Linked DNA regions of Homo sapiens: region 2 is linked to region 1. Evidence: promoter capture Hi-C in human tissues and cell types (Jung and others, 2019). All regions are on one chromosome and are shown on one strand. Each heading gives the region's core, a stretch centred on a gene start or on the middle of the fragment in contact. The rest is flanking DNA. Distances are from core to core; before and after follow the strand shown.

Evidence for each region. Contacts are between HindIII fragments. The study calls those that stand out against the background at their distance.
Region 2: a contact is called between a fragment that was not itself captured here and the fragment with the promoter of PDE3A in region 1, in 2 of the 25 tissues and cell types used here (H1 embryonic stem cells and bladder).

The regions. Positions count from the first base shown.
Region 1 is chr12:20,367,085-20,370,021 of GRCh38, forward strand. PDE3A (phosphodiesterase 3A) reads left to right here and starts at 1,453. Exons shown (of 16, transcript NM_000921.5): 1 at 1,453-2,937. The coding sequence starts at 2,201. PDE3A-AS1 (PDE3A antisense RNA 1) reads right to left here. Exons shown (of 2, transcript NR_186033.1): 1 at 2,757-2,937. RefSeq lists a silencer at 2,491-2,785. The HindIII fragment of the contact is 7,833 bases long and covers 1-2,937 here.
Region 2 is chr12:20,203,947-20,206,919 of GRCh38, forward strand. The region is part of intron 1 of LOC105369686 (a long non-coding RNA gene); the gene reads left to right. Among named protein-coding and RNA genes, the nearest start is that of LINC02468, 78 kb to the left of the region's middle. The HindIII fragment of the contact is 8,249 bases long and covers 1-2,973 here.

The DNA of each region.
Region 1 (2,937 bases), core at 203-2,702:
CTAGAACAGGCTGCTTCCCATGAAGCTGTTTAAAACTTAAGTCATCTTCTCCCCCTGTCCCCATAAATTAATTTTATCTCAAGGATCTCCTTTTGGCTTTTTTTATTGCTTCATGTCTACATACAAAATACAGTGGCATATTGAATCAATTATCTAAATGCTCTAGGCTGTAAATACACTTTAACCTGGAATGTCAAGATAATTAAGACAAAATTGGATTATTAAGATTATTATTAGTGAGGGCAAATGACATCTAAGATAGCCATGTTAAAAGTGGAGTATCATATTAAAAAGACAACTAGATCCCAGGGAACATCAATAGAGTTTAAGTCCATTGAACAGATACTGAATTCTTTTTCATAATCTGCCAAAAAAAGGTTAGCTTGAAAATTTTCTTTTAGTTTCTCAAATATCACACTGCTGCAGTACACGAACCTTTACTCATTAATAACTAAGGTCCTGATTTTTTTCATATGCTTTGCTCGAAGATGTAGTATTTTGCAGCCATAGACAGTCTTCTAAGATCTCTCCTAGTGTTAACCCACCTATCCTCACCTCTCCCTTGAGATTTTTCTTTATTTTTTGATGAACTATCTGGGCTTTTAAACTTTGTTAACCTTTTTTGAGGATACGGTCACTTAATCTCAATGTAATTTTACTTTCCACAGTCAAAAACTATTGTGTAATACTCATGCACTGGATTTAAATGACTGCTGCCTCTCCTTCCTTTCTTTTTATACTATTGTGGTCTAGGTAAGGCTGATTCTTCCATCATTTGAACCAACAGGCCAGGCTTGGGTTCTCATAAAGCAGACCTTCCAGCAGGAGCGACCAAAGGATGACACTGTCACCTGAAATTGGACTGCTGTTGTACCTGACTTGGGAACATCTTTGAATCAGACAGTAGAAGTGGCTGTCATTTTCAGGGACAGTAGAAAGTATGTTGGCTCTCATCTGCCAAGTAGGCAAACACAATCTTTTTTTTTTTTTTTTCCTTCCAACGTTCTAGGGAGCTCAGCCTCAGGGCTAGCCGCAGCCCCCCACACCCCGGGGCTGCGGTGGGCTGCGCGGTGGATCAGCCTCAGCAGCCCCTGCTCCAGCCTGTAGGGTGAACCGGCCGCTTTCCCAGCAAAGGAGCAATCGAGCTGAGGGTAGCGCCTCCTCCGCAGGAGGGGGCGGGAGCTCGGCTGAGAAAGCTTTCCTAGGGAGTTGCCTTAAAGAAAGAAAGCGGAATTGTCGATCACTCCAGTTGCCAGTTTTATACAATTTTAAGCAGTCGTCGCCACTCGTTTCCCCTTTGCAAAACTGCAAATCACCACCAACCTTGCATCAAATAGAAGTGGGGAGGGAAAAAAAAAGCAAATCTCCTTCTCCCTTCTCACCCTCCCTTTCTTCTCACCCTCCCTTCCTCTCTTACTCGCTCCTTCTCCCTCCCTCCCTTCTGCGGCTGCCGCTAGTCTCTCGGTCTGGCTCTCTCTCCGACGGGACTTAGCAACTTCTTATTTCTCAGCCCCTTGTCCATTTTTTTTTTTCCATCCTTTGCCATGAATTGGATTGACAGAGGCGGGGGAGGCTTTGCTTTCTGCCCCAGGGAATGGCGATTCGCGTCCTGGGGCCGTGCCGGGGAGAATCGGCCGAGGAGAAAGAAAGAGTGATAGAAAAAGAGCTGCAGGAAGGAGGAGAAGGGAGACCTCCATCTGCCGCGGGCCCGGCGCGCTGCAGCGCAGCGCAGCGCCGAGCTGCGCCTCGGAATGGCCCGGAGCCCGCCCTGCGCCCCCGGCTCCTCCAGCGTCAGCGGCTCCTGCGCGCGGGATGCATTGGGCAATTTTTGAAATCCTGAAGTAGGAAGAGACCCCGGAGGATATAAGTCGGGGGTGGGGGTGGAGCAGAGAATCTGTGAAAGATATTCAAAGAGAGAAAAGGGGAATCCTGATCGTTTCTGCCCGTGCTTGTTTTCAACTTGAGCGTGCTAGCCTTTAACTTGAAGAAGTCTCATTGGAGCATCTAGCATTCTCCAGGAGTTATTCGAAAGCTGAAACTTTCAGTGGATTGTGGGCCTGGGGAGAAGAAGGATTCCGAGGGTGGAATTGGGAAGAGCGTGCGTGCGTGTGTGTGTGTGTGTGTGTGCGCGCGCGCGCGTGGGTCGGGGCGGGGGCGTCGGGGGGCCACTGGGAATTCAGTGAAGAGGGCACCCTATACCATGGCAGTGCCCGGCGACGCTGCACGAGTCAGGGACAAGCCCGTCCACAGTGGGGTGAGTCAAGCCCCCACGGCGGGCCGGGACTGCCACCATCGTGCGGACCCCGCATCGCCGCGGGACTCGGGCTGCCGTGGCTGCTGGGGAGACCTGGTGCTGCAGCCGCTCCGGAGCTCTCGGAAACTTTCCTCCGCGCTGTGCGCGGGCTCCCTGTCCTTTCTGCTGGCGCTGCTGGTGAGGCTGGTCCGCGGGGAGGTCGGCTGTGACCTGGAGCAGTGTAAGGAGGCGGCGGCGGCGGAGGAGGAGGAAGCAGCCCCGGGAGCAGAAGGGGGCGTCTTCCCGGGGCCTCGGGGAGGTGCTCCCGGGGGCGGTGCGCGGCTCAGCCCCTGGCTGCAGCCCTCGGCGCTGCTCTTCAGTCTCCTGTGTGCCTTCTTCTGGATGGGCTTGTACCTCCTGCGCGCCGGGGTGCGCCTGCCTCTGGCTGTCGCGCTGCTGGCCGCCTGCTGCGGGGGGGAAGCGCTCGTCCAGATTGGGCTGGGCGTCGGGGAGGATCACTTACTCTCACTCCCCGCCGCGGGGGTGGTGCTCAGCTGCTTGGCCGCCGCGACATGGCTGGTGCTGAGGCTGAGGCTGGGCGTCCTCATGATCGCCTTGACTAGCGCGGTCAGGACCGTGTCCCTCATTTCCTTAGAGAGGTTCAAGGTCGCCTGGAGACCTTACCTGGCGTACCTGGCCGGCGT
Region 2 (2,973 bases), core at 148-2,647, 160 kb before region 1:
AATTTTGTTCTTTTTCAAGGTTTTGTCTATTCTATATCCCTTATATTCTTCAAGAGAATCTTATAATGTTTGTCAAATCCTTTCACAAAATAAAAGCAAAAGGAAACCCCTGTTGAGAATTTTATATGGTTGTGTGGAATTATAGATCAATTTGAGAAAAACTGATGTCTTAATATTATCAAGCCTTCTGACCTATTAACTAGGTATATCTCTCTAAATTCACTTGTAGTTTTCAGAGTACTGACATTTATTCCTTTATATTCTTTATACCAAATACAGTACCATGAAAGAAAATACGGTTGTGATACCAATATTAAAACTTTAAACCTTTTTCTGAATGTGTATATATCTCTGAAATTGTATTTTATTTGGCCAAAATATACACTTTGCCTTTCGGGATATCTTTCTATTATTTTAAAAGGATTTCTGTCAATATATATTTTTCCATTAAAATAACCATTTTCTTAAACTTGATTTTTACAGCATTTTACACAGTTCATTTTTTATGAGAATTTTTACACACTACATATATAATTCTCATCTATTTTTACATCATGTAGTTTGTGAAGTTAAAGATTTGGCAGTTAAATGGCTTAACAAGTTTTTCAGATTCACAGCTAGTCATCAAAAAAGCCAAGTGTAGAAGTATAATACCTATTTCTTAGCATTATAGGACACTTGATTGTGTTCCAGTAAATTAACTTTGAATTTTTTCCCATTTTTAGGGATGATGAATTAAGGTTTTAAACAATGTAACAATGAAGTGCATTTCTTATCTGCTTTGCAGTTCAGTTAGCATAAGGAAAAAACTTTCTTCTTACTGATTCTTAGAGGTTATCAAACAAAAATCTTAGGATAATTGCCATCCTACTTATCAAAGGGCAAAGCCCAGGGTTATGATCTTATGAACAAGTAGTCAGTTTTGAAGGGACTGATATGAATTTGTGTAATCATCCCTCTAATTGTTTTATTACAATGTTTATTTTTTCCAAAGAATTAAGATAAATGGTAATTGGTACTACCTAATAGTTAATTAATTTAACCTAATTAAATACCGTACATTTCAACAAAACATGTAACTCCTTCAGAGGTGCAGTTTTAGCAATATGCCTGAAGTTTCAAATATTATGCCATGATGCATGCAAAAATGATTAAATTCTTCTCACTAAAAGTGCTTTCTGTTTTATACGTTTCAAGGTAAATACCATTTTAGGTTGTAGCATCTTATGATTTCTAAGGTAATGTTGATTTTATCTTTGATGCAGAAAGCAACTGTCACTGGGAATTGACTAAGCTTTTTGTTGTCAAAGGTTACTACTATTTTTACACCACTCTGGTATGCCAGTAAATGTTTCTCACTTCATTATCACGCCGAGGCCTTTATAATATTGCTAATACAGGATGAAAATATTTATTCACATTTGGTTTGGATGTTTGCGAGCATGAATGATTGTGGGGAATCAAATGTAGTTGTTAAAAAAGGGTTTCCGCTGATGAACAACAAAATCCCTCAGAGCTATGGGTACAAGTATTTTAAAAAGGTACATTTATTTGATTACCACCAGATGTTTGTAGTGTGTTCCAGTTGCTTCCCTATTAACTGACTTAAAAAAATAGTCATTAAGCCAAGACTTCTTCAACTTTCTAAACAAGACTGAGTTTTTTTAAAATATAAATTCAAATGTATAAAGTATTTTAAAAATACTAAATTATGTTTTTAGCATTCAGCTTATTTTGGAGTTAAGGGTTGACTAACTTCAATTGTTTGTTATGTTGCTTTTTGCTAGGTTAGAAATAAGTATTTTAAATATGTGGCAGAAAACCTTCTAAAGCACCTAAATGAGCCATTATTAAAGATCTGACTTTATTATTATTTATTATTAAAGATTAGACACTGAATGTGTTTAGATGTATACTTCAGAGTTTTTCTAAAATACTAAATTCCCACATTTTTACTTTCCTAAAAACAATGTTGGACTTGTTCTAACCAGCTTTACTTGAGTTTCTTTCTAAGTTGCTTACAGGGCGAATGACTTAAATCACTGTTGTTCAGATTGATAGTATATGATGATTTAACCCTGAGAACTCTAGTGCTGTGTATTTTGGCTTCATTCCAAGTCACCCTGAGCTACACATAGGGTATACTTTGTCTCTTCTGAAATCATGAAAACTGCAGTTTCAGGTTATGTGCTACCTGCTTCAAAATAATAAACTGCCCTATCTATTGCCTTCATGCATGAACCTATAAAGTGTTTCCCATGATTCCTTTAAAACTAAATTGGGAACGTGTTCTGTCAGTGGATATTCATTTCAGTGGATATTCATTTAAGTGTATGGGTTTGCATGCTGTTGTTATATCTGTTTTAGAAGTGGATTTTCACAGGAAACTAGCAGTGTTTCCCTGTAAAATTTAGGTCTAATTTCATGTAGATAATTATTGCTGCCTCTACCTTTTCTCTAAGTGTGTATAATTGAACACACAATTACTTATTTGTAATCCAAGTTACTAAGTAGAGTTTCAAGCCAAGAGCTTCTAGCATAAAGCAGTCTCTTTGGTTAGCATTTGAATATGGAAGCCACACTACGTGAAGAGTATATTTTAAGATTAACAATGTTTTGGAAGCACTTTTAAAAGAAATCTTATGACTACGTTTACAACTCTCAGGCTTAAATCAAAGGACTTGCCTTGCTGGAGAAGATCTGAGAGATAAGAACACATAAAGCCTCAGTGGTAAATCAGTTTGACATAAATAAGGTTTCAAAATGTTTAAATTCAGTTTAACTGGGTTTTTCAGTTTACAGAATGCCAAATGATTTGTTTAACAAAACATTTCATGATATTTCTCTAAAGTTTCAGTAGAGAGAAAACCAGAAAATAAGAAACATGACTTTTGAAATTTAGAAAATCAAATCGAATCTGTATTAGCAGCTTTAACGGACATGAGAATTTTTAATTTTCTATTTTCAATCTTT